Regions from separate parts of the Homo sapiens genome. Here all the other regions are linked to region 1. Evidence: promoter capture Hi-C in 16 types of primary human blood cells and fetal thymus (Javierre and others, 2016). All regions are on one chromosome and are shown on one strand. The core of a region is centred on a gene start or on the middle of the fragment in contact, and the rest is flanking DNA. Distances in the headings are between cores, read along the strand shown. Region 1 holds the start of NOX1 (NADPH oxidase 1). Region 2 overlaps TAF7L (TATA-box binding protein associated factor 7 like). Region 3 overlaps DRP2 (dystrophin related protein 2). Region 4 has its middle 23 kb from the start of DRP2.

Evidence for each region. Contacts are between HindIII fragments. The CHiCAGO score rates a contact against its expected background, and 5 or more counts as called.
Region 2: a contact is called between a fragment that was not itself captured here and the fragment with the promoter of NOX1 in region 1, in 1 of 17 cell types (naive CD8 T cells). The highest score is 6.0, in naive CD8 T cells.
Region 3: a fragment that was not itself captured here is called in contact with the fragment with the promoter of NOX1 in region 1 in 1 of 17 cell types (total CD4 T cells); the score reaches 5.1 in total CD4 T cells.
Region 4: a fragment that was not itself captured here is called in contact with the fragment with the promoter of NOX1 in region 1 in 2 of 17 cell types (naive B cells and total B cells); the score reaches 6.7 in naive B cells.

Annotation. Positions count from the first base shown.
Region 1 is chrX:100,871,212-100,877,367 of GRCh38, reverse strand. It overlaps NOX1 (NADPH oxidase 1), which reads left to right and starts at 3,009. Exons shown (of 13, transcript NM_007052.5): 1 at 3,009-3,273. The coding sequence starts at 3,229. The HindIII fragment of the contact is 11,783 bases long and covers 1-4,811 here.
Region 2 is chrX:101,271,167-101,277,322 of GRCh38, reverse strand. It overlaps TAF7L (TATA-box binding protein associated factor 7 like), which reads left to right. Exons shown (of 13, transcript NM_001168474.2): 10 at 795-1,016; 11 at 1,211-1,323; 12 at 2,042-2,101. Among named protein-coding and RNA genes, the nearest start is that of TAF7L, 17 kb to the left of the region's middle. The HindIII fragment of the contact is 9,276 bases long and covers 1-6,156 here.
Region 3 is chrX:101,254,226-101,260,381 of GRCh38, reverse strand. DRP2 (dystrophin related protein 2) reads right to left here. Exons shown (of 24, transcript NM_001939.3): 18 at 5,821-5,957; 19 at 5,458-5,523; 20 at 5,133-5,198; 21 at 4,121-4,264; 22 at 1,836-2,073; 23 at 213-333. Among named protein-coding and RNA genes, the nearest start is that of TAF7L, 34 kb to the left of the region's middle. The HindIII fragment of the contact is 3,502 bases long and covers 3,156-6,156 here.
Region 4 is chrX:101,194,049-101,200,204 of GRCh38, reverse strand. No RefSeq gene overlaps it. Among named protein-coding and RNA genes, the nearest start is that of DRP2, 23 kb to the left of the region's middle. The HindIII fragment of the contact is 2,811 bases long and covers 1,047-3,857 here.

The DNA of each region.
Region 1 (6,156 bases), core at 1,760-4,259:
AACTGTGTTTAGAGCGAAAAATGTGACTGTGTTTATAGACAATGTAAGACAAAATACAGAAATATTATTACAATTAATAAGTGAGTTTAGCAATGTTGCTGGGCATAAAAATCAATATGTAAAAACAAATTGTATCTTTAACAGCCATCATTAAAAATTAAAATTAAAATATATAATTTACAACCTCATGAAAACATATAAAGTTCTTAGAAGTGGATATAACAGGCTGGGCACGGTGGCTCATGCCTGTAATCCCAGCACTTTGGGAGGCCGAGGCAGGCGGATCACGAGGTGAGGAGGTCGAGACCATCCTGGCTAGCACAGTGAAACCCCGTCTCTACTAAAAAATAGAAAAAATTAGCCAGGCGTGGTGGCGGGCGCCTGTGGTCCCAGCTACTCGGGAGGCTGAGGCAGGAGAATGGCGTGAACCCGGGAGGTGGAGCTTGCAGTGAGCCGAGATTGCACCACTGCACTCCAGCCTGGGCGACAGAGCGAGACTCCGTCTCAAAGAAAAAAAAAAAAGAAGAAGAAGTGAATATAACAAAGGAGACGCAAGAATTTGATTATAAAATTTACATGAAAATGAAAAAGGCCAAGAATAAAAACAAAACACAGAACCCCCCCTCCCCCCAAAACAAAGAAACAAACAAACAAAAAGTCAAGAATAGCCAAAGCACTCTTGAAGAACAAGGTGGGGAAACTTGTCTTATCAGATGTCAAGACTTAGTAATTAAGGCAGTGGCATGGAAGAACTGAATGGAGAGCTCCGGAAGAAACTCGTGTATATAGACATTTCATATATAATAGAACTGACATTTTAGATCAGCGAAGAAAGTATATTTTTGAAAGTACTTTTCAAAAATGGCTGAGCGCAGTGGCTCATGCCTGTAATCCCAGCACTTTGAGAGGCCCACGTGGGTGGATCACATGAGGCCAGGAGGTCAAGACCAGACTGGCCAGCACAGCAAAACCCTGTCTCTACTAAAAATACAAAAATTAGCCAGGCATGATGGCGCTTGCCTGTAATCCCAGCTACTCGGGTGGCTAAGGCATGAGAATCACTTGAACCCAGGAGGTGAAGGTTGCAGTGAAGGGAGATCACACCACTGTACTCCAACCTGGGTGACAGAGTGAGACCCTGTCTCAAAAAAATAAAAATAAAAATAAAAAGTACTTTTCAAAAATGATGCTGGGGCAATTCGTTTTCCATATTTAAAAGTAGTAAATTGGATACCATACATGAAAATCAGCTCCAGGTGGATTCAAAACATAAATGTAAAATGCAAAAATATAAAATTTCTAGAAGAAAATATAAAAGAGTATCTTGATATCTGGGTAGTGATGGATTTCTAAAACAAGACATAAAATGCATAAATCATAAAAGAAATGACTGGTAATCAGAGTGCATTAAAATTAAGAACTTCCATTTATCAGAAAACACTATTAAGAGACTGAAAAGACAAGCCATAAACATAAGCAATAAAAGATTAGTATAAGATTATAAACAGAACCCTAAGAATCTAAAAGCAAAAGAAAAACCAATAGAAAGATAGACCAAAAAGTAGAATAGGCTCAGAATAGGCTCTTTTAAAAAGAGAAAACTCAAATGGCCAGCAGTTGAATTAAAAGATGCTCAAACTCATTAGTAATCAGGGAAATGCAAATTAAAATCATAATACGATAGTTTTCCACACTTACTTGAATTATAAAAACAAAAAAGTCTGGAAAATACCAAGGGTTGGTAAGCATGTAGAGGAAGTAGAACTCTCATTCATAACTCTCTGTAGTATACATTTAGGTGGTCACTTCGGAACGGGTTTGGAATTACACAGCAAAGTAGAATATGTGCAAATCTCAGGACCCTGGAATTTTACTCCTGGGTATATACCTTAGAGAAACTGTAGCATATGTGTGACATTTGATCAACATTGTTCCATCATCATATCCATCAGTAGTAGGATGAATGAATACATTAATGTATATTCATTCATGCAATGGCATATTAGATAGCAGTGTAAGTGAACCGCAATTACATGTACATGTATGAATCTCAAAAACCCAATGTTGAAAGAAGCAAACCACAGAAGCATACATACACACTGCCAGGTTTCATTTACAAAAAGTTCAAAAACAGGAAAAACTAAACAATATATTGCTTAGGGATGCAATTATAGTTAGTAAAAATATAAAGAAAAATAACAGAATGATTACCCCAAATTTCAGGATAGTGATTACATCCGGTGGGGTAGAGGAGGGGAAGAAGATAGATGTGATCAGGGAGGGAAATACAAAGAGCTTTAAGATACTGGAGAAAAATAGTCTATTTTCTTTAATCTGAGTAGTGAACACATAGATACTTATTCCTTAAAATTATTCTTTAAGTTACATATGTATGTTTTATATACTCTTCTGTGTATATTTCACCATTTTAGAAAAGGGAAAAAAAATCAGTGCCCAGAGCTGAACACACAACTCTAGTAAATCTATCATACTAGAAGACAATCATCTCCATTCTTTTGAGTGCTCTGCCTCTGTTTATTTTGAACCAAAGTGCACTTTTATACTTGTTAAATTTTCTCTTGCTCTATTTGGCCCTTCTTTTCACTTGTCCTTCCAGCCAGTCAAGTTCTCCCCAAAGCCATCATCATATATGTCAACCACAGATCATCCTCCAGGGGAACTGGTATGCTAAAGTTTCTGAGCTAGCCAGGCTGAAATCCAAATGGCAGCCGGCAGATGTGGCAACAGTTTGAAAAGTGCACTTTGAAACAGCTTCCTTACCACACACGCTTCCCTCCCTACTTCTCCTGAAGTAATCTGTTTACAGACCCAGACTAATAATCTTTTTTATGAGAAACTTTAGCAAATCTTTTATCTAGGAAGGCAATGCTTCACATTAGGTCATGTTGATAAGATGATGAGAGAGAATATTTTCATCCAAGAATGTTGCTATTTCCTGAAGCAGTAAAATCCCCACAGGTAAAACCCTTGTGGTTCTCATAGATAGGGCTGGTCTATCTAAGCTGATAGCACAGTTCTGTCCAGAGAAGGAAGGCAGAATAAACTTATTCATTCCCAGGAACTCTTGGGGTAGGTGTGTGTTTTTCACATCTTAAAGGCTCACAGACCCTGCGCTGGACAAATGTTCCATTCCTGAAGGACCTCTCCAGAATCCGGATTGCTGAATCTTCCCTGTTGCCTAGAAGGGCTCCAAACCACCTCTTGACAATGGGAAACTGGGTGGTTAACCACTGGTTTTCAGTTTTGTTTCTGGTAAGTGATGTTTGACTTCCTATTAATTAGGAAGGATTAAGGAGAAATCATGTTTTTTAATATTTGTAAAGCAATTTGAAAGAGAAAGATGATTCCATGCCGATTATTGGGCTCATCAAGACCAGTTAGTTAAAAAATACAACTGTGGGTCAGATGAGAGGACAGAGGCAAATAACATGCAATTGTTCATGTTGTCAAATCACAAGTATTTGGAATTTCAATCTGTTTTCATTTTCTGTCATCTCCCTTTCTCTTCCATCTCACTTCTAACTACTACCATGAGTGCTGATTTCTCTCTATCTTTCCTATACTGGTCCCATCAAGATTTCAAAAAGTCACTGAATGTTTGAGATGAAAGTGATCTTAGAGATCATCTGGCCCAGTACTGACCACTAGAAATATAGCAAACCACATAATGTAATTCCTAAATTTTCTAATACCTACACCGAAAAGGTAAAAATAAACAGGTGAAGTTAATATTTAACAATATAATTCATTTAACCCAACATATCAACAAATCCTTTCAGTATGTATTCAATATTGAAAATATTAAGAAGCTAATTTACATATTTTTATTTTTACTGAGTCTTTCAAATCTGATGTGTATATATACCCACAGCACATCTCAGTGAGGACTAGCCACATTTCAAGTGCTCAGCAGCCCCATGTGGGTAGTGGCTGTGGCATTGCATAGTGCAGATGTAAACCAACTTATTGATTGTACAAAGGAAAATAAGACCTAGATGTCACACAATGAATTGACTGAATTGGCATCACTCGAACCCAGCTCCCCAATGACGTTCAGGCCAGAACCCCTTTATCACCCTTTGTATGCACAATCCCTTTCTCCTAACACTCTAACACCTCTCTCCACTCTCATTCTTCCATTTCTGAGCCACAGTTGAGCCTGGGGCTCCCTGTGTCCTTTCTCACTTTCCTAGATCTTCATTCATTACTCTTTCTCTTTTCTCCTGTTTTGCTTTTGGGTCCCACAGGCAAAACAGAAGAGAGAAGGTGTGATGCTTCTTTTTATTCCTGTCTACCCCCCCGCCCCCCGACCAGGTGCTCCAGGGAAAAATATGTGGAGTTTCCCTGGAGGGTTGTTTGTTTTACATTTAACAAAAGTGCTTATTTTGTCAGGTTATCCCATGACATATTTTAAATGCTCAATGCCTTATATTGAGTTCCTTTTGCACTATAATGGAAAGAACACTAGTTTAGGAGAAAGGGAACCTGGCAAGTACTTTGAATTCTGCTACTAACTGGGTGATCTCGATCAAATTATTTATCCTCTCTAGACTTCAGGTCCTGTGGGTGTGTAGGTGGGGGGAATTGGGCAGGGGAGGGGAGCAGGGGATTAATAAAGTGACTAGATTAGATACAAATATAAGGGTGTTTCTAGCTCTAAAATCCACATTTACCTGCATTTTTTCCCCCTCTCTTATTTTTTGCTGGGAGAGTTTACCAGCTATGATGGTGACTCACATTTAACTCTCTAGCTTTGAATTTTCATCCCCCACCAAACCAGCTGGCAAGCTTAGACTTCTCATTATCTCTGACATATACTCCTATGCACTGATTTTTAAATAAAAAATAAATTACTTAAAAATAGTTTTATTCCTCCTTCCTCCCAGGTCTTGTAGTTTACCTTCTTTGACGTTCATAGTGGAGGAAATGACAGCTAAGATGGGGAATGGAATGCCTTACTCCTAGATATCACTGTATTTCATCATTTGCCTTGCCTACAATTGATGATGGGCTGACACAGTTATTTGCCCCTGTGTCTCTTTGCGATCCAGAAATATTTCTGCTCCCTCTAAATAAACTTCTCTCCTCTGTCTTCCAAATTCTTGAGGTGTCTGTGACTGTTGACTTTCTTTTCTTTCAAAGACGTTTCTCTGGAAGACACTCAGCTCTGGAAAAGGGTAACTGAGCAAAGGAGGCAGGAAGAAATTGATTGGTAAAGCAGGTTCGGTGGTGACACAACTCTGTAGCTAGCACTTATTGATCTCTTACTAAGCCCCAAGCATTGCATTAATCACTTTACACGCATTATCTGACGTAAGCCTCATAGCATTACTATAAAGTAGGTCCTGTTATTATCCTCATTTTGCAGGTGAAGAAATTGAGGTTTAGAAAATTTAAATCATATGTCTGTCTGAGATTATAGAGCTATTAATTGGTGATGCTACAACTTGACTCCAATATCACACTTTAAATCACTATATTATAGTACTAAAGGTGTGTGAGTGGTCTAGATCTAGGGAGTCTGAATAGGCCATGTCCTAGGCTAAAGGCCCTTTGCCTGTTGTGCTGAGATGGTTCTGACTCATACTGTGGGGCGAGGGATATATACTAGCGCCCTGGAGACCTGTCGAATTACAGACTAGCACCTCCACACTTGGGCTAGAGACCAGTTGGTTGGTCCTCAAGGCAATGGGCAGTGAGTTCCAAATTTCACCTTTAGCCAGTGCAGAGACAGAACTTGGAACAGGCAAAAGCAGTCTTAAGAGCTCAAAAAAGTCCAAAGGAAAAATAGATTAATTTGAAAAAAGACTCACAATCTGAAAACAGAAAAATGTGTGTCAGGGTGTAATTAAAAAGGCAGGCCCATCTGGAATGGTTTAGTTCTTTTCAGTTAGGTATTGTTATAGGTGCTAAATTTGTTCTTTGTTTCTTCAGATATCCATTTATTCACTTATTGCCATCTTTTAGGTGCAACAGTTTGAATGCTCTAGTCCAAGAAATGGCAAATGTTTCTGTAAAAATCTAGATAGTACATATTTTAGGCTTTGCAAGCCATATGGTCTCTGTCCCAACTACTCTACTCCGTCATTGTATCACAAAAACAGCCATAAACAATACAAAAATGAGTAGCAGTGG
Region 2 (6,156 bases), core at 1,622-4,121, 400 kb before region 1:
TCACCACCATGCCCAGCTAATTTTTTACTAGCGTCGGGGTTTCACCATGTTGGCCAGGCTGGTCTTGAATTCCAGACCTCAAGTGATCTGCCTGCCTCGGCCTCCCAAAGTGCTTGAATTACAGGCATGAGCCACTGTGCCTGGCCTTTTTTTTTTTTTTTTTTTTTTTTTGAGACAGAGTCTCGCTCTGTCGCCCAAACTGGAGTGTAGTGGTGCGATCTCGGCTCACTGCAACCTCTGCCTCCCAGGTTCAAGTAGTTCTTGTGCCTCAGCCTCCCAAGTAGCTGGGATTACAGGCATGTACCACCACACCAAGCTAATTTTTCTTTTTTCTTTTCTTTTTTTTTTTTTTGTAAGTAGAGATGGGGTTTTGCCATGTTGGCCAGGCTGGTCTCCAACTCCTGGCTTCAAGTGTTCTGCCCGCGTTGGCCTCCCAAAGTGCTGGGATTACAGGCATGAGCCACCACACCCAGCCCTTCTTCCCTCTTATTGGTCTCTTGGCAGTTTAGGGGTTTTAGATTAGTGTTCTAATCTCCCATCCACCCCTGGTATTTTAACTTCCTATGACCCTTAGAGTCTCTAAATATCTTGATCATTCACTACATGAATGAATGTTACAGTGTTTTGCATTTGCTGTCCTTGTTTTATAAAGGGAATAATCTTCCTGCATGAAAAAATGATTTATAAAATTCACTGGTTGCCTGGGGAATGTGAAAGGAGTATAATTATATCTGGAGTATGAGTCATTTGCAGAGTTTTAGATAGTTCACCTTCTTCTTGCTTAAAACTAGTAGAATATGATATGCTTCGGGAGATGTTCAGTGATTCTAGAAGTAACAATGATGATGATGAGGATGAGGATGATGAAGATGAGGATGAGGATGAGGATGAGGATGAAGATGAAGACAAAGAAGAGGAGGAGGAAGATTGTTCTGAAGAGTATCTGGAAAGGCAGCTGCAGGCCGAGTTTATTGAATCTGGCCAGTATAGGGCAAATGAAGGTACCAGTTCAATAGGTAAGTCAGAAAAAACAAAGGGATGGGACCAGGGTGGGTGGCAGTGCTAACAGTTGACTCTAAGCATACATTAGACTCAAAGCTAAGCTCAAGAAGTTATCGCTTCGATGTGTAGTAGAGTTTTACTTGATTTGGATCTTGGTCCATTCATTTAGGCTATATTTAATATATAAAGTTCTATGTTTCTCTATTAGTCATGGAAATTCAGAAGCAGATTGAGAAAAAGGAGAAAAAGCTCCATAAGATTCAGAATAAAGCACAAAGACAGAAGGATCTCATCATGAAAGTGGAAAACCTGACACTCAAGGTAAATTCTTGGCTGGCATAAAGAAATCCTGATATCTTACTTTCAGTATCTTGCCTTTGTGTTTCCACTTATGTTATCTCTGTGCAGGGTTCTTGTTCATTCATGAACCTAAACAGCCTCTTAGAAACTCCTAATAAAAGATAACCCTGTTTCCTTTTACCTGAGTAATTTTGATCATCTAATATAAGCATTTTGGGGAAGGGACTAGGTGATATGAGATAAAAATTGCCAATATTGAGCATTTGCTATGTAAAAGGCACATAAAGGGCTAAGAATTGTGTACACATATTATCACATTTTATCCTCACATCCTTGAAACGTAAATACTGTCACCACTCCCATTTTATAGATAAAGAATGGAAACTCAAAGAGGTTAAGTAACTTGCCAGGGATCACAGTAAATGATCCCTGAGTAAGGGATCTTTTAGTAGAGATGAAACCTCATCTCTACTAAAAATACAAAAATTAGCCAGGCCTGGTGGCATGCTCCTGTAATCCCAGCTACCCAGGAGGCTGAGACATGAGAATCACTTGAGCCTGGGAGGCGGAGGTTGCATGAGCCAAGATTGCGCCACTGCACTCCAGCCTGGGTGACAGAGGAAGATTCCGCCTCAAAAACAAAAACAAAAACAATTATTTGCCAAACTCCTTGCCTCCCTTGGTTTTTTTTTTTTTCTTTGAGACTCAGTGTTCATCATTTATACAATTTATTTTTCAGAATCATTTTCAGTCTGTGCTGGAGCAGCTTGAGTTACAGGAAAAACAAAAAAATGAGAAGGTAAGAAGTATGTTTTCAAATTAACCAGAAAACATTTGATACAGAGAATCCCCCACTTCAATTCCAATATCATTGCTGGCTGTTCCTCTCATAGGAATAGTGGTAGCCAAATCTTCTAAATGAAGGTAGCAGGGTGGAACAAGGTCTTTGTGAAAATTCACTCATTCAACAGATATTGAATGCCTATGAAGTGAAAAGCACTGGATGTACGGTGTTGAATAAGACAAATGCAATACAGTAAATCCTCAGTGTCATTGATAGGTTCTTGGAAACTGTAACTTTAAGCAAAATAATGTATATATAATGAAACCAATTTTACTATAGGCTAATTGATATAAAGAAGAATTAAGTTCCTATAGCATATTTCTGGTCACAAAAACATCACCAAACTTCTAAATAAAAACCAAAACGCTTCTAATAATTAAACGTTGAAATAAATGTGAGCTATACATACATTTGAGAAAGACTGATAAAAACAAGTAAGACAATTATGTACCCAGTGATTCCAGTTCAGGGTCTCAGATGGCCAGAGCCTATCCCAGCAGCTCAGGGCACAAGGTAGGAACCAGCCTTGGATAGGATGGCATCCCATTGCAGGGCACACTCACACCCACACTCACACCCACACTCACTCAGACTGGGACAATTCAGACAAACCAATTCACCTAATGTGTACAGGGAAGTGATTTTATTTTTCTCATCAACATTATAATGAGGCCAGGAGTGGTGGCTCATGCATGTAACCCCAGTATTTTGGGAGGCCGACGCGAGAGGATTGCTTTAGCTCAGGAGTTTGAGACCAATCTGAGCAACATGGTGAAACGCTGACTGTACAAAAAATTAGCCGGTTGTGGTGGCATAAGCCTGTAGTCTCAGCTACTCAGGACGCTAAGGTGGGAGGATTGCTTGAGCCCAGGAGGTTGAGGCTGCAGTGAGCCATGATCACACCACTGCACTCCAGCTTGGGCAACAAAGTGAGCCCCTGTCTCAAAAAAAAAAAAAATTATAATGAAATGACATTGAACTAACAATGTTATTTGGAGACCTTTTGCATGTCATTTTGCTTAAAGTTGCAGTTTCTAAGAACCTATTGATGACATTAAGTGAGGACTTACTGTAACAAAACGACATTGGACAAAACGATGTTATTCAAGGACCTGCTGTACTTATCCTCGTGGAGCTGTCTAGCAGGGGAGATTGACAATAAACAAATTATACAAATATAAAGTTACAAATTGTGAAGAAGTGCTATGAAGGAAAAAAGTCAGTGGTGCTATTAGAATAAAGGGTCTTGAATTAATTGGGGGATCATGATAGACCTCTCCTAGGAGGTGCTATTGAAGCTGAGACCGGAAGGATTAAGTCCAGGCAAAGAGTGGGATGAGGAGCCTCTTAGGTGGAGCGTATGCAAGGTCTCATGCTCAGAAAGAACTTGGCTTCTTTGAGGACCTTTGGAGTATTTAAAGCCAGGAAGAGAATGGCTTAAGATAAGGTTGGAGAAGTAGGCAGAGACCATAGTGTATGGTTCCTTGAAGGCCATGATAAGGAGGATGGGTTTGGCCTTAAGTGTAATGTGAAGTCCTTGAAGAATTGTAGATAGGAAAATCACATCTAATTTAAACTTTTTTTTTTTTAAATGGAGTCTTGCTCTGTCGCCCAGGCTGGAGTGCAGTGGCACAATCTAGGCTCACTGCAACATCCGCCTCTCGGGTTCAAGAGATTGTCCTCCCTCAGCCTCCCAAGTAACTGGGACTACAGGCACGTGCCACCATGCCCGGCTAATTTTTTGTATTTTTAGTAGAGACAGGGTTTCACCGTGTTAGCGAGGATGGTCTTGATCTCCTGACCTCGTGATCCACCTGCCTTGGCCTCCCAAAGTGCTGGGATTACAGGCGTGAGCCACCACGTCTGGCCTAATTTAAACTTTTAAAAGGTTACTCTGATTATTATCTGGAGAATGGGTTGGAAGAAGGTGAGAGTAGAAGCAAAGAGGCTGGTTGGGGGGCTTTGTGGTACTCTAATAACAGAGGATGGTAACTTGGACTAAGTTAGTAGCAATGGAGATTGAAAGAATATAGATTTTTAAACTGCAATAAAAATGTTTTTATAACAGATGTAATTCATAAACCATACAATATCACCCATTTAGGCTGGGTGCGGTGGTGCGTGCCTGTAATCCTAGCGCTTTGGGAGGCCAAAGTGGGCAGATGGCTTCAGCCCAGGAGTTCGAGACCAGCCTGGGCAACATGGTGAAACCCCGTCTCTCCAAAAATTAGCCAGGCATGGTGGTGTATGCCTGTAGTCCCAGCTGCTCGGGAGGCTGAGGTGGGAGGATTGCTTGAGCCTGGGAGGCAGAGGTTGCAGTGAGCAGAGATCCCACCACTGCACTCCAGCCTGGGTGACAGAGTGAGACTGCCTCAAACCCCGTCCTCCCCACCCCCGACAAGTCACCCATTTAAACTATACAATTCAGTGGCTTTTAGCATATTCAGAGTTGTACAACCACCACTGCAGTCAATTTTAGAATAGTTTCATCACTCCAAAAAGAAACCCTGTATCCATTAGTAGTCACTCCCCACTTCTCCAGAACCTCTCCCCTGCCCAGCACTAGGCAACCACTCATCTAGTTTCTACTAATCTACTGCCTATTCTAGTTATTTCATACAAGTGAAATCATATAATACATGGTGTTTTGAGTCGGGCTCCTCTCATTTAGCATATTTTCAGGGTTCATCCATGTTATGGCATGTATCAGTACTTTTTTCCATTTAAAACTGACTAATACTCCATTGGATCAATATACCACATTTTGTTTATTCATTCATCTGCTGATGGACATTTGGGTTGCTTTCACTTTTGGCTATTATGAATAATGCTGCAATGAATATTGATATATTAGAGAATATACTTTAAAGGTAGAATTGACAGGAGTTGGGTCAATTACTGGGTGTTGAAGGAGAAGGAATCATTAAGGATGTATGTATTTCTAACTTGAACGACAACTGTATTTTTCAAAGCCACAAGAGAGTGTACAGGGCGAAGAGAGAAGAAGGCAATATAGGCTAAATGAGGGTCAAGCAGCTGTATAGAAAATGTGTGCTGACTCTAACCTTATACTGTTGAGGGTTACAATTTTAAAGAGACTGGAGTTGGTATTATGAGGATGGGCTTAGCATGGTGCTCTTGAAGTACAGGCACTACTCCCCACCCCCATCCCCACAAGGCTAGCGGAATTTTTATGTTCTATATATTCCCTTCCTCTCAGCAAATCACTTATCCAAGTACTGCTTAATACTGCTTTAAAACAATCAGATGAACAGTTAATGCCAGGATTGTTTTAGTACCCACCAAACATCTTTGTTTTCATCAATGTAAGTACAGTTGTATGCTGCATAACAACATTTTGGCCAATGACAGACTGCATATATGATGGTAGTCCCATAAGATTATAATGGAGCTAAGAAATTCCTGTCACCTGGTGACACTGTGGCCATCATAACATAGCAGCAGAATTACTTAATTTTTAAATTATTTTACTATAGCCTAAGTATATAGTGTTTATATAGTCTTCAGTAGTGCATAGTAATGTCCTAGGCCTTCACATTCACTCACCACTCACTCACTGACTCACCCACAGCAACTTCTAGTCCTGCAAGCTCTATTCATAGTAAGTGCCCTATATAAGTGTACCATTTTTAATTTTTTATATTGTATTTTTAGTTTACCTTTTCTATGTTTAGATACACAAATACTTAACATTGTGCTACAATTGCCTACAGTATTCAGTACAGTAATATGCTGTACAGGTTTGTAACCTAGGAACGATAGACTATACTATGTAGCCTAGGTGTGTAGTAAGCTATACTATCTAGGTTGGTGTAAGTATGTTCTATCATGTTCGCGTCATGACAAAATTGCCTAAGGATGCATTTCTTAGAACATATCCCCATTGTTAAGTAACACATGACTATATTTAGTATTGAGGAGCAGCATAGAAATGTAGCTGTAAACTTTATTTACTCAGAGTCCCTTATGTTAGTTCATTTATCCAAATT
Region 3 (6,156 bases), core at 3,657-6,156, 380 kb before region 1:
CCAGCACAATGCCTAATACATAGGTTGTGCTCAATGTATATTTATTTGTGGAATAAGCATATGAATTAATCAATCAGTAAACCAATCATCCCTGACCCTAAGCACAAAGCCAAGAGGAGAAACCAGTCCCAGCCCCGCAAAGCCTTGGGCAGGAAATCGAGGGCAGGACAAAGCCATGGAGAAAGGGGCTGGGAAAGGCCAGGGGAACTCACCTGCAGCCTCGGTATCTGGAGTAGTCTGTCCCTTCTCCCGGGGGTGACTGCCTTCTGACTGCTGTGGAGAGGAAGCTAGGGACGAGCCTGCAGAGCCACTGCCATCTGATTCGGTGGGTGGCTAGCAAGAGGTAAGGCATGACTTAAGTGGATTTGCCTTCCTGACCTTACTCTGACAGACTCCTGAGCTTAGAAGGGACCTGAGAGACTTCATACCATCCCTTTACCCTTAGACTTTAAGAAGCTTTTGGTATTACCTAAAACAGTGGCTTCCACTTTTAGGAAACTTCTTAGAATATTGAATTACCCATTACCTTCTTCCTTTAACAACATGTGTCAAAGGCTCCCAGTTCTTATAAGAATGGCATTGTAGGCTGGGCGCGGTGGCTCACGCCTGTAATCCCAGCACTTTGGGAGGCTGACGCAGGCGGATCACCTGAGGTCAGGAGTTCAAGACCAGCCTAACCAACATGGAGAAACCCCGTCTCCACTAAAAATACAAAATTAGCCGGGCATGGTGGCCCATGCCTATAATCCCAGCTACTTGGGAGGCTGAGGCAGGAGAATCGCTTGAACCTGGGAGGCGGAGGTTGCAGTGAGCTGAGATCGAGCCATTACACTCCAGCCTGGGCAACAAGAGCCAAACTCTGTCTTGAAAATTAATTAATTAATTAATTAATTAAATAAAGAATGGCATTGTACCTAAAGGTCTCTTGCTGTCATTTCAGCTATAATTAAGCTATTTAGAACACAATTCTCTCTGGAAATGTAGAGTTTCACACCTGATCCTTGGTTCATGACATAGCATATGTTAGAAACCTCCAGGAATCCATAGAGGCCATTCCTTGGAGGATCTGGGGAAGAGGCAGAAGAGTGGTATTTTCCATTACATATAATGACAATAATAGGTAACATTTATGAAGTGTGTACTAAATTCCTGGCATCATGCTAAATTCCATAAATGCATTATCTCCTTTTATGTTCACCACAATTCTATGAAGTTGGTACTGTTACCATCTCTGTTGTACAGATGAGGAAACTGGGGCTTAGAGAGGTTAACTAACTGTCCAAACACCCCACAGTCAATTGGCAGAGCCACATGCAAACCCAGAGCTGCCTGACTCCAGAGCTTTACCACAGCATACACATTGCCTCTCAGAGATGAAAGGTGCAAAAAGTAACAAGAAACACCTTTAGATAGCACTAATCTTTCTCTTGCCAAACTTGTCCCAACCCACTTCTTTCTAGCAAATACCATACTAGCAAAATCAATGTTTTAGATGATTTTTGAAGTTTGTTCTTTTAGTATGGGATTCCAATGGGTTGTGAAGAAATAAGCCCTCAGAAGTCTTCTCTCTGCCCCAGGCCCCACAGTGGCTGGAGAGTGACACACAGGGTGGCATGGAAGGTAGGTGGAAGAGAGTTGGCTGAAGATGTGACCATACCAGTCTCTTCTTTCCCCCGCCCCCCCACCAACCGCAGGCCCAGTTCTCTTCAGGAAGTTACCTGACAGCCACTGCCAAGGAGCTCTCTCTTGTGTCTTCTTTGCCACAGCCCTCAGCTCCCCAGCCCTTCCCCTGGGCTCAGAGGCCACCCTGGCTCTTTTCCTGTCTCCATCCTCACCTGCAGGAGAAGCTCCCTCAGACGCTGCAGCTGGGACTCTAGCTGCTTGTTGTGATCTTCGAGGATCTGCATGCGCGTCTCCAGGCGGCTCTTATGTTGCCGAAGGATACGGGCCTCGGCCAGAAGCTCCTCATTGCGGTGGTCTGTTGCTGCCTCAGTGGAGCCGTCAGCCAGACTGGGTGCCTCAGCTGCCTCCTCATGCTGCCACTTCAGGCGCCTCAGCTCTCCCTGGAGAATCCTGCCATGGAGAGAGACACCAAGACCTATGGCTCTAACAGGGCTCTGACTGTCCAGGTTTCAGATGTCCCCTCAGGCCTAGGTGTGAACAATCCCTGTGCTCTTCCACCCTACCTCACCCCCACCCCCATCCCCACCCCCAGCTGTGCTCTTGCTTGAATGGCCACATCCACTTCCTCTCCAGCACATATGTCATTTACTCTGCCATCCTGAGACCTCAGAGCAGAGAAAGTTGACATTTTGCGTAAGAAATGTCTCAGGGCTTTGATGTGCTGCTTTAGGGATTAATTCTGACCTTAAAATCAGGCAGAAACACAGTCTGCAAATAAAGGAGGCATTAGGGCCACTGACTCACCTACTCCATTTTTAGATGTTTAGATTCCAAGGGAAAACATAACATAAACAAGAGACCACCTGTCTTGCCTCTTCTCTCCACAATCCTCCTCTTTGGCCCACTTTGAACACCCATGCTGGGTCATCAAAAAAACAAATTCCAAACAGGTGGCCTACTTTTGGGGATATCACTTTTGGCTTTGTTCGTTTTTTCTTTATTTGCAACAGAACAGTCACTCTCAGCCCAGTGTTTCCCAGGGCCTGCAGACTGCTGCTCAAAGGCAGTGTTTCTCAAATGATTCATGGCAAAAATCCAGGTTTTTTTTTTTTTCACTCTGTTGTGGACCAGTATGTGGTCCCAATGCACATGACTAGTACATAGCTCACACCACGTAATTCATCACACAAGTTCAACAACACTCAAACTGGTCTCTACCCTATTCAACGAGATGAGCCTACTAATTTGGTGCTTGAATATCATAGCAATGTCAAATTGCTGTAAAAGTTTCTAAAAGCTTACTCTCTCTTTTTTTTTTTTTTTTTTTTTATCTTGCCTTGGACTGGTCACAAACTGGTCACAAACTGGCCCTGGTCTGCTCTCCAAACTCTGAGTAGCACTGTTCTAAAGACTTGCTACTCCAAGTGTGGCCTGTGGAACAGCAGTATGGGCATCCACTGGGAGCTAGTGAGAAACGCAGAAACTCAGGCCCCACCCAGACCTGTGACTTAGAATTTGTATTTTACCAAGCTTCCCAAGTGACTATCTTATGCACTACTGTTTGCAAAGCACTGCTCTAAGGGGTACTACGAATTCTACTTCATGCCCCATAAGAGGCTTGGACCCTCCTTAGGTACCTGCTGCCACCTTTACTTTATGGAAAGTCATGTCTTCCCTGTATTCTTCTTCACCATCCCTATTCCAGACCTCCAACGCTCTATGTAGTGTCATTGTCCTCTGGAATACTTTTACTAGGTGATACACATTTCTTTCCACTTCCAACATTGAAAGGTCTCTGAGGGCAGGAACATGTCATACCCTCTCCTGTTTTCTCTATGCATTCTCTCTGCTTGCATCTTGTGTGTTCTTGGAAAAATTTGGGTTACATTAAAAGGATTCAGGCCAGGCACAGTGGCTCATGCCTGTAATCCCAGCACTTTGGGAAGCCGGGGTGAGCAGATCACTTGAGGTCAGGAGTTCAAGACCAGCCTGGCCAACATGGTGAAACCCCGTCTCTACTAAAAATACCAAAAAAAAAAAAAATTAGCCAGGCATGGTGGTGCATGCCTGTAGTCCCAGCTACTCGGGACGCTAAGGCATGAGAATCGTTTGAACTCAGGAGCCAGAGGTTGCAGTGAGCCGAGATCACGACACTGCACTCCAGCCTGGGCAACAGAGTGAGACTCTGTCTCAAAAAAAAAAAAAATTTAAAAGTTTTCAAATAATTATTATAATAGCTAGCATTTATTGAACCCTTACTATAAGCCAGGCACTGAGCCAAACACATTATATGCCTGATCTCATTTGGTCTTCACAAGTGACCCTAGGAGGCAGGTTTGATGATCATCATCCCCGTTTTACAGATAAGGAAATAGAGGATTACAGAATATAAGTAACTTGCTCAAGGTCAGACAGCTAGGATGTAGAAGTGCCTGGACTTAAATTCAATCTGTCTGCCTCAAGAACCCACACAGATTTCTGCTATCATCACACCCACCGGTTCTCATCTTCCAAGTGGGCCAGGATCTTCTGTAGCTCCCCTTTGCTTTCTGTGGCCACACTGCATGGAGCCTGCTGTCCAAAGGCTGGCTCCCGGTCTGTGATGGGGCTGGAGTGCCGCAGCAGGTACTGGTCCTCGTCTCTGCATGGGTGTGGGGAAAGCAGAGTAGGTGACCAGTTGTTGAACAGAGAAACAACTCAGCTCTCAGCTCAGGCCCCAGGAAATGCATGCTGGAGGATTCACTTCTAAGTCACATCGAGAGGGAAAGGACATATACTGAGGCTTGAGAGGGATGAAAGTGTTCAAAGGAGGCAGAGGCTGTGGTTGGGGGTATTGAGAGAGTGTTTTCAGGATGCAGGTATCTGGGTTCTACTTACAGCCCACCCCCCTCCCCGGGAAACAATGAGCAAATCATTTCCCTTTCTGTGCTGTTCCCCTACTCTACCCTCCTTTGTTTCCTCTTCCTCTAGAGGGATCTGGGTCCCAGTCAGGGCAGATTGATCCATGTAGCCAGAAGCTCCTAGGACCTCTGAGCAGGGTGGGGACCTCCCTAGAGACACAAGGCCCCTTCTCTGGGCTGTCATACCAGGGAGTTCCCTTGGCTATAGTTCAGCCAAGTCCCTGATGTCTCCCAGGGTTAGTGTAGCACTAGATAGGGCTTTGGCATCTTGAGCACAAGATAATGGCTCCTTTCTGCAACTTCAGATGAGGGAGGGCATATTCTTCGTTCCTCAAAGTTGTGTATAGAAGGATGGGATCTTGCAACAGGAAGGGACTTGGAAAGATGGCAGAGAGCTAGTACATCACTCATTTCCTAGGTTGATTGATAGAGGGAAGACTGCCTTTCTTACTGAACACCGTGCCCAGAAAGCAGCCTTCCTTCCTTAGGGAGCTAAGGATCCTAACCACCACACACCCCCATTCCCTGGAGGATATACCCTTCCCAAACAGTGGCACAAAGATCTCAAGGAGAACTATTTCTGGCAAATAAGCAGCTGTGGAAACTCACATGCTGTCATCTGGGGACAAGCTGTCATTAAAGAAGGAGCAATTTTGACTTTCCATCTCAGCAAGCCTAGGAATAAAGAGCAGAGGCAGGAGAGAAAACAGGATGTGGGGCCTGCTTCCATCTCAAGGACTTTAATCTCACAGCAGGATCATTGGCTTTGAGAGCTGCCCCAACTACTCCTAAGTGTTGGGTCTTGCTGGCTGCTGCACACCCCACTGTGCACATCCCCTGGCCCTGACTCCATTCTCCTTGCCCCGACTGAAGATCCTTTCCCCTCGGACTTCCTACAACAGCTCCTACCCACCTCCCGCAAACCTGGTGGTACCTGCTGGCAAAATGCTCAATTCGGGAGTGTGTGTCGGCGTGTGGCCACATCGGGGAAGAAGCCGGCCTAGAAGAAAGCAGCAAAGACTCGGAGGACCAAAGACTGGGCAGCCTGTTTCCTCCTCCCTCTCCTGCTCCCTACATTATGGACATGGGCAAGAGCTGATGGGAACAAAATACAAAGACTGGATTCCAGTCTACTTCTCAGGCCAGAGTGCAGGTCAGGCCCAAGCTGAACGGCCCTATCACTAGTGGGATTTACCTTGGAACATTCTCCTAGCCCACTCGGGACTCAGCCCCTTCACAGCATACGATCGGGCTCAGTGAGGCTGCCCACAGCCCCTGCTCAGCCACCAGTACTCACGTCTCACTGTAGTCAGCCTCCAGCACTGATTGCACAGGCAGATAACCTCGCTGAGGGTGTTTGCTGAAATAATGCTTGGAGCGGAATTTGTTCTTTAAGGTTGTGGCAAAGTCCCTCATGTTCTCACTGGATGTGGTCTGAGGAGGAGACAGGGCAGAGGAACTTACCCTAATGGCTTCCAGATATACTGGGCAGGTGTGGCTGCTCTGCTAGAGCAGACAGCCTGCTGGGTAATCCACTCTTGCTCATGCCCACCATACCCTGCTCCTAGAAGAAGGTCTGGGAGGATATATGCCAAACTCAACACTGGTTGCCTCTGGGAAGTTGAACTGGAGG
Region 4 (6,156 bases), core at 1,203-3,702, 320 kb before region 1:
CCAGCCTGGGCAACAGAGTAAGACTCTCTCAAAAAAAAAAAAAAAAAAAAAAAAAGAAAGAAAGAAAAAGAAAATAATGTTTAGCAAAAGTCAAATACATAAGTACATAGTTTGATTCCATTTAAATGAAGTTTTAAAACAGGCAATACACCTATGGTGATACAAGTTAAAACGGTGGTTACCTTCGAGAGTATCAAGTGGGAAGGGGCATGAAGAAGTCTTCTGAGGTACTGGAAATGGTTCTACATCTTGATCTGGGTGGTAGGTAGTTAAATGATTGTGTGTGTGTATGTGTGTGAGAGAGAAAGAGATGTGTGTGTGAGGGAGACACAGAGAGAGAGAATTAAGTGAGCTACGCTTGAGATCTGTGAACTTTTACTGTAGAAAAGAAAAAAACAATTATTAGCTAAGCACAGTGGCACATGCCTGTAGTCCCAGTTACTTGGGAGGCTGAGGCAGAAAGATTGCTTAAGCCCAAGAGTGCAAGAGCAGCCTGGACAATATAACAAGACTTTATCTCAAAAAAAAAAAAAAAAAAAAAGAAAGGAAGAAAGAAAAGAAGAAAAATATTTAAAAAGACAATATCAATTTAAAAAAGAAAAAAAAATGGTTAATGGTCCCACTGAACACTTCAAGAAAAAAGTATGTTATCCCAGCATTCAAATTAGATAAGTAAAATAATTGCTTCTCTCTCAAATTGATTAAATCTTCCTCTAAACAGATTATTTTGCTTTTCTTTTGCTTAGATTTTTTGCTTTGGATGTGGTATCCAAGTATAATAAAGCAGAAGAGAGAATTTTCTTCCTACTCCCAGATATTAGTTTATGCCATACAGACATCATATATTCTTCAGAAGATTTGCTCTGACCCAATTCAGGATACTTTGTTTTTGGCAAATAATCTGAGTAAAAAATGCCATTCCTCACTCTGTGATTGTGTGTATATTTATACAGTTTTTAATTTCCCTGGGAGTACTCATACCCAGTTTGAAAAGCATGCCTTTAAATAGCCAATCTAGTCACAATGGCTAATTGACAGGAAAAGCTTTCAAGTGCTCAAAGGGATCATTGATCCTTTTATTTCGCGATGAGCAAAGAGATCCTTAGAGCTAATTAAATTATGATCCTAATATTCTTCCCTTTCATTATTAGCAGTATTTGGCCCTGATTTTTTTCCTGGAGCATGTGTACTCAATTAGGGGTGAGGGAAACACATGTTTTATAAAACAAAAGTGGTCATTATTCTCTGCTCCAATAAGAGTGTGTTTTATCTTTTATCATTAAAAGAGGAATCAGTATTTTTACCAGGAGTTTTCAAATACATTTTTCTTTGAAGAAAGTTCTGGTGTGTTTCAATTGTTTTAAACTAAGATTAAGCTCAGGGCAATAATTCAAAACGTTTAAATTATACATAGTGATTAGTTTTAATTTTTAGTGTGGGAAAGTGGTAATTGAAGACAACATTAATTTGGTAATGTTAAAGCATTAAGTGGAGAACAACCTTTCAATTTTCCTCACCCTAGTGTGATTTATTATATTATAGCCCATACTTGCAGTATCTATATTATCTGCTTCAAGGTATTAGATCTTATGATACTAATAATCTTAAAAAGGAGATATTTTTCTTAAGAGAGTACCAGGCACCAGGTGTGGTGGCTCACGTCTATAATCCCAGCACTTTGGGAGGCCAAGGGGGGCAGATCACCTGAGGTTGGGAGTTCGAGACCAGCCTGGCTAACATAGGGAAGCCCCGTCTCTAATAAAAATACAAAAATTAGCTGGGTGTGATGGCACGTGCCTGTAATCCCAGCTACTTGGGAGGCAGAGGCAGGAGAATCACTTGAACCCGGGAGGTGGAGGTTGCAGTGACCCGAGATTGTACCACTGCACTCCAGCCTGGGAGACAGAGTGAGACTCCATCTCAAAAAAAAAAAAAAAGAGACCGGATGCGGTGGCTCACGCCTGTAATCCCAGCACTTTGGGAGGCCAAGGCGGGCGGATCAGGAGGTCAGGAGTTCGAGACCAGCCTGGCCAACATGGTGAAACCCCATCTCTACTAAAAATACAAAAATTAGCCAGGCGTGGTGGCGGGCACCTGTAATCCCAGCTACTCAGGAGGCTGAGGCAGGAGAGTCACTTGAACCCGGGAGGTGGAGGTTGCAGTGAGCCGAGATCGTGCCACTGCACTCCAGCCTGGGTGACAGAGCGAGACTCCATCTCAAAAAAAAAAAAAAAAAAGAAAGAGTACAAGGAGCAGCTTGCAATACCATATGATTTTATTCTCAAAATGGTGTAATGAAAAAAACCCATAGACTCTGGTGTTAGTAGATCTGAAAGGCAGACCTGACTCCATTATGAATGACTTTGTGTGAATTATTCAATCTTTCAGAGCTTATAGTTTCTTCAACTGTAAAATGAGACTATTATAATAATGCCTGCCACACTGAAGAATCTGGATGAAAGGCATCCACACAATATCTTAGAATGTGAACTGGATATAATGCATGACAATATTTTTTTTTAGACAGGGTCTCACTCTGTCACCCAGGCTGGAGTGCAGTGGCATGGTCATGGCTCACTGTAGCCTCAACTTCCCAGGCTCAAGCAATCCTCCCTCGTCAGCCTTCTGAGTAGCTGGGACTATAGGTGTGTGCCACCATACCCTGGTAATTTTTTAATTTTTTGTACAGATGGGGTTTCGCTACGTTGCCTAGGCTAGTTTTGAACTCCTGGGCTCAAGTGATCCTCTCACCTCAGCCCCACAAAGTGTTGGGATTACAGGCAAGAGCCAGTGCACCCAGCTTGATACTATTTTTAAAATTCCAGTACAATTAGGCTGACAAAGGTTTAGGTTTGGGGTTTAAAAATCTAAAAATACTAAATAGTAAAAAATGCAGTATAAAGATTTTAATAATGGTCGTGGTAATCTAAGACTGACAGAACCAGTATTTTAATGGAAAAAAAGGTTACTTTTCAATTCCTAGAAATAAGTATTTCATTACTGAGAGAATAAGTGTATATCTGTTTGGGAAGAAGGGAGTGCACAGAAGGAAGAGATTATAGGTAAGCCTCTATATTCTATTTTTAATTTCTTTATTATTTATTTATTTATTTTTTGAGACGGAGTCTCGCTCTGTCACCCAGGCTGGAGTACAGTGGCGCGATCTCGGCTCACTGCAACCTCTACCTCCCAGGTTCAAGCGATTCTCCTGCCTCAGCCTCCCGAGTAGCTGGGATTACAGGCACACACCACCACGCCTGGCTAATTTTTGTATTTTTAGTAGAGACGGGGTTTCACCATGTTGGCCAGGCTGGTCTGGAACTCCTGACCTCAGGTGATCCGCCCACCTTGGCCTCCCAACATGCTGGAATTACAGGCGTGAGCCACTGTGCCTAGCCTAAGCCTCTATATTCTAATCCACTTGTTGTAGGGCCCTGATATGGGCACCCAAATGTAGCTTTAAAATATAAGGAGAATGACAGACAATAGTATATATGAAATATTCTTATCAAAAGATAAGATCTACTCTAATTAAACCTGTAGGGAAAAAAGGGACAAAGGAGCATGTTAAACAATATCATGAGAATAGAATGAGCAAACTCTAGAATGTGGGAAACTTAGGAAGACACCCAGTTTCTTCAACAAAAAAATTGCAAAAATAAAAAGGAACAAGGAGAACCTATAGATTAAATGAGGCATTAAAGACATATCAACCAAATGTAACCTGGGGACCATTTAAAATACCTGAATCAAACAAATGGTTATAAAAATACTTTGAGACAATCAGGGAAACATAAAATAGACATATATTAAGGCAGTATTGTTAATGTTTTTAGATATAATTATATTAACAAGCTTTTTAAAAGAATTATTGAGACAATATTAGCGAAAATGGAAGAGTAACGGCCCCCCAAATTCAGTCCTCCGTAAAATTTTTTTGAAGCCAAAACTAGTCAGAATCAACATTTTCAGAACTCTGGAAATTAACCAAAGGCTTGCAGCAACCTGGGGAATGTATTTTAAAGAAAAACACCTGAATCTCTGTAAGAAAAGTGAGCTTCACGTCATTTTAATTTGTCCTAGTTCCATCTCCCACTCTCTAGCTCTGCAGTAGCCTTAAAAAATTACAGTCCACATTTATGAAGAAAACCAGCAGCCTGACACGTGAGGGAGCAGAAAGAGGTGGGAGCTTATTCAAAGCCTCATTCCTAAACAACTGTCATTGTTATATATGTCTGGTGGTTCCCTGGAAAATACCACTTGCTCAGAGATAACACAGTGCAAAAAGCCTTCTCCAGGGGGAGTATTTGCCAAAAACAAATACAGGCAAGTGATTTAGCTTTGCAGCTGCCTAAGGCTGTGAATAACAGTTAAGGTACACAATAGACTAATAAAAAATCTTAAACAGAAAAATTGGGGAAGAATATATCTATAAGCACTTTGAAAACCTCCTACATTTTTCAGAAGATCTAGAAGGGCATAAGCATGCATAGGACTGTAAACATGCTCTGGAAAGACTCAAGAAGGCCCCACACTGTCATGTTTGGCTGACCTTGAGCCTTTGCACAATCAGGAAGTGAACACTAAGGCAGAGTTGTTAATGGCCTGGGTGATTGTTGAAAGTACACCCCAACATGCACACGGAGTTCTTTGACAAAGACTAGGAGATTTGCTGGTTCTGGGCATTTAAGAAGCTCTGTCCAATCATGAACTAATCTCTAAAATAGCTGAGTAGAGAATTCAGTGGTCACATATGACAAAGAATACAGACTAGTTCAGAGAAGTCACTAAAACAACCACCCACCCACATTAGTAAAAACAAGTCAAAACAACAATAAACCTTGGTAAAGAGAGAGCATCTGATTTCCAAAGTTGCCACATCAGATTATTCAAAAGTCTAGTTTTCAACAAAAAATGATGAGTGATACAAATAAATAAGAAAGTATGGCTGGGCACCGTGGCTCATGCCTGTAATCTCAGCACTTTGGGAGGCAAAGGCGGGCAGATCACTTGAGGCCAGGAGTTTGAGATCAGCCAGCTCAACATGGTGAAACCCCATCTCTACTAAAAATATAAAAGTTAGTCAGGTGTGGTGGTGCATGCCTGTGGTCCCAGCTACTTGGGAGGATGAGGTGGAAGGATCGTTTAAACCCAGGAGATTGATGCTGTTGTGAGCCGAGATTGCACCACTGCACTCCAGCCTGGATGACAGAGTAAGACTCTGTCTCAAAAATTAATAATAAAATAAAATACAGTACAAACGTATTTTTTGTTTATAACACTTTTTCTCTCCTTATTTAAAAGGCAACTGCATAAAACGAGATTTATAAATCTGTGTTAAAAGGCACCCAATGTATATACATATAATTTGTGGTAACAACAGCACAAAGGAGGGTTAGGATGGAGCTACTAAAGAACAAAATCTTCATATACTATTGAAATCAAGTTACTGTTCGTCCAAATTAGATTGTTATAAGTTAAAAATGCTAATTGTAATACTCAGGGCAATCACTAAAAATAATTTTTAAAAACACAGTAAGTGAAATAACAAGGGAATTAGGATGTACACTAGAAAATATCTATGTTCTATATGAGTTTTGTTTTTGTTTTGCTTTTGTTTGTTTGTTTGTTTGTTTTGAGACGGAGTCTCGCTCTGTCACCCAGGCTGGAGTGCAGTGGCACGATCTTGGCTCACTGCAACCTCAGCCTCCCAGGTCCTGGTTCAAGCAATTCTCGTGCCTCAGCCTCCAGAGCAGGTGGGATTACAGGCACCCACCACCGTGCCCAGCTAATTTTTGTATTTTTAGTAGAGACGGAGTCTCACCATGTTGGCCAGGCTGGTTTTGAACTCCTGACCTCAGGTGATCCACCCGCCTCGGCCTCCCAAAATGCTGGGATAACAGGCGTGAGCCACCGCAGCTGGCACTATATGAGATTTTTAAAGCATTATCCAACTATATGCTGTCTATAACAAAAAAACTTTAGATCCGAAGATACAAATAGGTAGAAAGAGAATAAAATATGTATGTATATATATATATATATATATTTTTTTGAGACTCTGTTGCCCAGGCTGGAGTGCGGTGGTACGATCTTGGCTTACTGCAACCTCTGCCTCCCAGGTTCAAGTGATTCTCTGGCCTCAGCCTCCCGAGT